2 separate regions of the Homo sapiens genome follow, and region 1 is linked to region 2. The links are contacts of gene promoters, found by promoter capture Hi-C in human tissues and cell types (Jung and others, 2019). All regions are on one chromosome and are shown on one strand. The core of a region is centred on a gene start or on the middle of the fragment in contact, and the rest is flanking DNA. Distances in the headings are between cores, read along the strand shown. Region 1 overlaps CAMTA1 (calmodulin binding transcription activator 1). Region 2 holds the start of THAP3 (THAP domain containing 3).

Region 1 (3,056 bases), core at 99-2,598, 1.1 Mb before region 2:
TTCCTGTCACCCTCCTGTGTATCCTGCAGGTGCAGGGGTGCTTATTTCAACTTGGAGGCCCACAGAGTTCAGAGCTCAAAGTTCTGGGGGGGGGGGCAGCTAGGGAGCAGGTGCCCAGCTTGGCGGCAGGCCCATCTCGAGGGGCCTGGGGTGGCCGAGGTCCCGGGGTGTGTCTGTCATGAAGCAGTTGGGTGGCTCCCCTTCCCCCCGGTTTCTATGGCAGCATCCTCCCGTGCCGTAGCTTCTGGGGTACAGCTGGCTCTCTGGGTTTCCAGGGGGCCTGCAGATGTGTCCTGAGCTCTGGGGCACTGCCTGACTGTGACTTTGCTCTCTGAAAAGGCTCCATCTGCCAGGCAGGGTCCTACAGTGGTCCCAGCATCCTTGGGTTCATTCTAGTGAGGCCGGCCAAGTCACTCAGGGAGAGCCAGAGCTCTGGAGAGTTCCTGACTCCATTCCCCATTTGTTCTGCAAAACTAAAACCAGATTTCCTAAACGGGAGCCCCTGGTCACCCTGCCCTTCTTTGTTACATCCTGTGGGTGGTCATCACAGCTCTGCCTGGCTCCGGCCTCAGCCAGAGATGCTGCCAAGGGCAGCTCGGTGCCCCAGGGCAGCCCATGCTAGGGTTTGAAGACCCAAAGCCACCCCAGGGAATTGTCTCCTGAGGGTTCACCAGCCAGGGCAGCTGTCGGCACCCTCTCTCTCGGCTGGGGCAGGGACTGGGATAAGGCTGAGGTTTACACACTGGGTGGTTCAGGAAATGAACTATGTACCCAAGCCCAGAAATCCTCCAGCAGCCAACAGCAAGGGGCAGTCTGAGAGGTGAGACCCAGAAGGCCAGCTGTGGGTGCGGGGTGCGTGAGGGGGTGTTGCTTGGAGAACCCACCCCTGCAAGGGGCTCAGGCTCAGCTTAGCCCAGACCTCAACATCCTGGGCTAGCAAGGTCTCCAGCAAGGTACCCCATGGAGTGTCACCTCTGTGGGCTCACCTGATACTGAGGTTATGGACAGGCATCCCTCCTACCGCATCCCCAGTGTACTGGGCTCAGCCCCCCAGGCCTTGGCTAGCTCTGGGCCTCCTGACGTGTGCCCAGGTGGGAAATGGCAGCCTCTGGCTCTGGCGTCCCCAGCCTGCCTTTGGCAGCTCTTCTCTGCAGAGCCCCTGGTACCCCAAGGGGAACCACCAACACTCACCGACCCCCATGGCCAAGGCTGGCAGCTCTTGGAGTCCCTGCCTCTCCTTGACCACCAGGTCCTGCCTGCTCCCTTGAAGCCCACTGGGGTCCCTGACACTCTACCCTCTGCCACAGTCGTGATCCTGGGCTTGCCACAGACGCCGTACAGGCCAGAGGTGGAATTAAAATCAGCCAAGAAGCTGGAGTTGAGGGTATTTGAGGGCTTCCAGGAGAAGATTTGGCTGGTTAGCCCCAAAAGGCAGAAGCAAGCCCCCAAATTCGAAAGAAGCCCAGGCCTGAGCTGCCTCCCCGTCCTCTTTCTCGAGAGGCTTGGGGCTTGGCGATGGCCTCTGGGAACCCTTTTTGCTTCCAGGAGCCCGCGGAAACAGGCCTGGAGGGGCACAGCGGGTGCTTGGACCTTGCTGCCTGGGGTCCTTCGCCAGAGCCTCTTAGCTGCCCTGGGCTTGCTTGGCCACTCAGACAGCCCAGCAGGCGTGCCAGCCACAGGCCCACACTCACATACTTTTCAGTCTGTCCCAGGGAGAGACTGAGATTGAGGGTGGGGCCAGCCAGTGTCCAGACACAAATGGCTGACAGCATAGGCACTCAGCCTGGCGGTGGAGACCCAGTCGGCCTTCCTTTGCTCACATTGGCACCACTTCCTGCCCCTTTCTGGGTGCTTACTCTTCTTTCACACCTTGTGCAAGAGTCCCCAAGCATCCCTCTCCCTTGGTGCCTGGCAAGACGACCCAAGCACTGTTCTTACCGTCCAACGACAGCCAGTCGTGCTGGGAGGAAGGGAGCGTGGGCAGAGCCCGGGCTTTGTACTCAAACACCACCGAGTTGGAGATGATCTGGTTGTTGAAGGCAACTTGTAGGGTCACAAGACCAGTGTCATGGGCTGAAAGCGAGAGAAAAAGACCAGGTCAAGGGATGGGTGGGTACCTACAGCCTGGTGAACCACACAGGGCCTGGAATGTCCCCTCCCCACTACCCTTCATTGGTTAATGTCCAGCTCTCCTTAATGGTAGCCTATGCCTGCTCATTCGAGGCCCAAACACAATGCTGCTTCTAGGAACCTTCTTGGTTCGCCCAGACTCAGCCAGCTGTCCTGTGATCACTCCCAGGTACGTAACTGCCCCTTTGCTTTGTCCTCCGAGTGAGGGCAGGAGCTGGGTGCTCAGTACAGACTGGCTGAACAAGTGAATGAGTGAATGGCCCCCATCCCTGCCTCATGGCTGGCTGACTTCCCCTCTTGTCCCATCCTTCCTGGGTGGGGCTCGGGTACAAAATTTGCTTTGGATTTATTTGCGCTTATTTTGTTTCACCTATTCCTACAAGCTTGTCCTGACTCGATGAACAGCCAGCCATCCCTTGTATTTTTAGTTCTTCTGCTTCCCCGATGAAGGAGCTTCAGATGTGCCTCTGTTACCCTGGCCCCAGCTCAGCCCCAGTGGGTGTTGAGCTGGGGATGCTGATGTGAAGGTTGCACCTCCCTCCAGTGGCCCGACAGTAAGCTCTGGAAGACAGGGCCCTGGCAGGTCTCGTTAACTGCTGTGGCCCCAACACAGGGCTCAACAAATAACTCTATTTGTGGAATAAACGAGGTATGTTCTCACTGTGAGTAAGACGAAGCCAGCCTGCGGTGGAGACCAGCTTCAGCTCTTGGGTTGAGGTTGCCTCTCCATGGCTCATGTTGGCATCTTGGGGGCTGGCCTGTGGCCCACAGAGGTGGCCCGTGGGCAATGGTGGGTGTGCACACTGCCCCGCCAGGCCTCATCCCTGGCAGATGTCTGGGTTCTGTGCCTTCTGCCCTGCTTTTCCGGAATACCAGATACTGATACCCAGGGCCTCCCCAGTACAGACTTCCAGGGAGGACATGCG
Region 2 (3,083 bases), core at 424-2,923:
TTGTCATCCAAAAAATGGGGCCACCCAAATGCCCTTCAATTGTAGAACAAATCAGTAAATTCTGGCACTTGCATTCAATGGAATATTATGTGGCAACGAAAGCGAATGAACTGCAATCCACTCTGATAGCGGGCAGGATAGGGTTCCCTTTGGGCAGGAGAGAGGAGGAGGGCCTGGGAGGGGGTCCAGGTAGGGGTTCTTCTCGGGGGTAGTGATGTTTTATTTCTTATTTTGAGATGAGGTATCGCTCTGTCACCCAGGCTGGAGTGCAGTGGCAAGATTATAGCTCACTGCAGCCTCGAAGCTGGGTTCAAGCGATCCTCCTACTTCAGTCTCCCGAGCAGCTGGGACTACAGGGGCACACCACCTTGCCTGGCTAATTTTTTTAAATTATTTGTAGAGGTAGGGTCTCCTTCTGTTGCCCAGGCAGGTCTCGAACTCCCAGGCTCAAGCGATCCTCCCGCCTCGGCCTCCCAAAGTGCTGGGATGACAGGCTTGAGCCACCGCGCCCAGCTGGTAACGTTTCAGTTCAGTGACGTTCACTTGGGGAAAACTCGCTGGGCTGTATACTTATGATTCGTGCATTTTTCTGCATGTACATTACGTATACTTCAAGCAAAGCATTTATCACAAAACAGAACAATGGGAGCAGAGGGAATGGGAACGATGAGCACAAGCCCCCCTTCGGAATGTGCCCAAAAGTGGGTAGAGAAATGGTGCCGTGACTGGACCTTGGAGAAAGCGCAACTGTGACTAATGACGATTGCTCCTGGGCCGGGCCGGGCCGGGCCGGGCGAGTGCTGGAGCAGACTCCAAAGTCTCCAGCGTCCTCCCGCGACCCTGCAGAGTCCCTTCCCACTGCCAGGACGCCCCTGGGGGTTCCACTCCTCCACTGCACTGCCCAGGTGCCGGGCTCCCTTCAGGACCGCGCGCGGCGGGGGCTGCAGCGACCAGGGACACAGCAAACCCCGGCCGCGGCCCGCTAGTCTGTTCAGCAAACACCTGCTCCGCTCCCTGCACGTCCCGGCCCTGGCCCCGCCAGGTGCGCCGCTGCCCCTCCGTCCGCCACTCCCCGCATCCCCGCGGCGGGCGCGGCGGCGCCAGCCCCTCTGGGCCCAGGACCTCGGCCTGTCCCCGGGCCCAGCGGCCGCACGCCTTTGGGCCTCCCGCCCGGCGCGCCAAGGCCTCGGAGTCGGTCCGCGGGCCCCGGGTCTGGGCCTCCCGCGCCCCCGGGTCCCCGCCTCTTACCGGTGGAAGGTGAGCTGCTTCCTGCGGCTGCTGTAGCGGTTGCAGCACTGCCGGGCCGCGCACGACTTCGGCATCTCGAGCCAGGCCTGGCTGCCCCCAACAAAGATGGCGGCGGCGGCGGGGCCTGCGGAGAGGGGAGGGACCTGCGGGGAGGGGCGGGGCCGCTGGGAGGTGGTGACGGGCCTGGCTCGCCTCCAGGGCGCGCTCATCCTGCCATCCCAGCCACCCGCGTCTCCCCAGGGTCGGACGGGACCCGGGGCGCCACGTAAAGGGGTGCTCCGGGCCCCAATTCAGGCCCGAAACCCCAACTCCTAGCCTTGGGCCTGTGCAAGTCTTACCCCATTCGCCAATGCTGGTCGCCTTTCACCTCCTTGCTTTGAGCACCCAACCAGGACGCATAGCCACTCACAGGCTTGGACAACTGGAAACCAACGGCCAACCCCTCAGTGTTTTTAGGGCTTTGAATTGTGAATAGGTCTGGACTCCTCTGACGTCACTGGAGGTGGTACTAGTTGGCCACTGGTGGTGTCAGTTCAGAGGCCAGACAGCTCACTGCCCTTAAGTTTGGTCACAGGGAACCCCCAAACGTGAAGAGGCAAAAAGGGCAACTGAAGGGGAGGGAGATTCCAGTTCAGGCCTTGCAGAAACTCCGAGGCTGCAGCTTTCTCAAAGCAGCCTATAGGGAAGGCGTCATCTTGTAAGAAGAAAAAAAAAAAAATCGGCCAGGCGCAGTGGCTCACGCCTGTAATCCCAGCACTTTGGGAGGCCGAGGCAGGCGGATCACCTGAGATCAGGAGTTCAAGGCCAGCCTGACCGACATGGTGAAACCCCATCTCTACTAAAAATACAAAAATTAGCCGCACATGGTGGCGGGCACCTGTAATTCCAGCTACTCGGAAGGCTGAAGCAGGAGAATCTCTTGAACCCGGGAGGTGGAAGTTACAATGAGCCAAAATCTCATCACAGCACTTCACAGCCTAGGTGACAAGAACGAAACTCAAGTCTCAAAAACAAAAAAAAAATCAAAAGTAGGCTAACCACTCACTGGGGCTTGAGCTAATCCTCAATCTGATGAAGAAACTGCAAAAACCATTCACATCTACTCGTCCTGTGGTTTGTTTCTAAGGAATTCACCAGCAAGGTACCTTAACACCGTGGGCATTTTCCATCCTGCTAAGTGCACACTGAGACGCTGCCTTCCCAGAGACTTGATGTAATCATGCTTTGGGGAGGTAGCAAGGAGAAAAGAAACACAATTGTCCTTCAGCACAGAACGCAATCGCCTGAACCTTGAATCATGAACCTCAAAGTAGCAATATATTTATTTACAAAATATACAGTTTCACAGAAACAGCTTCGCTTTATACACATAAACTTTAAAATTACACAGAACCATGTAAACGATGTGAAGTGTCTGGCCTGGCCAAAGCCAATGGGAGGGCCTACTTTTGGGGTGACATCCCTCCCTCCCCTCACTTCATTAGCCACCAACCAGGAACCACAGATGGGTCGTGCCTAATTTGCATATAAAGAAGCTGATTGCAGCTGCCCAGCTCAATCTAACACAAAAACCAAGGTGTCCGACTTCTTAGACACCACCCACAGGGACAGATCTGCTAAAAGAACAAAAATGCAATCAAGGAAACAAAATGGAGATGAGTATCACATGCATTCCAGAGGCATCGAACCTTCTAGCACACGTGACAGTTGCCAGGGCCGGCAGTTCCATTCTAAAGTCACATGGATTCTTAAATGCACCTTTAAAAGCTTGTGGAATTTTTTTTTTTCAAAGCAGAAAAACACTTTGGAGCGCTGGTTATTCACGTGGTGAAGAC

Evidence for each region. The method cuts DNA at HindIII sites, captures the fragments that hold promoters and counts their contacts. A contact is called where the count stands out against the background at its distance.
Region 1: a contact is called between a fragment that was not itself captured here and the fragment with the promoter of THAP3 in region 2, in 1 of the 25 tissues and cell types used here (dorsolateral prefrontal cortex).

Annotation. Positions count from the first base shown.
Region 1 is chr1:7,676,616-7,679,671 of GRCh38, reverse strand. CAMTA1 (calmodulin binding transcription activator 1) reads right to left here. Exons shown (of 23, transcript NM_015215.4): 11 at 1,939-2,073. Among named protein-coding and RNA genes, the nearest start is that of VAMP3, 93 kb to the left of the region's middle. The HindIII fragment of the contact is 4,655 bases long and covers 1-3,056 here.
Region 2 is chr1:6,623,458-6,626,540 of GRCh38, reverse strand. THAP3 (THAP domain containing 3) reads right to left here and starts at 1,673. Exons shown (of 6, transcript NM_001195753.2): 1 at 1,587-1,673; 2 at 1,249-1,391. The coding sequence starts at 1,322. It overlaps PHF13 (PHD finger protein 13), which reads right to left. Exons shown (of 4, transcript NM_153812.3): 4 at 2,511-3,083. RefSeq lists a silencer at 873-1,282. The HindIII fragment of the contact is 5,956 bases long and covers 1-3,083 here.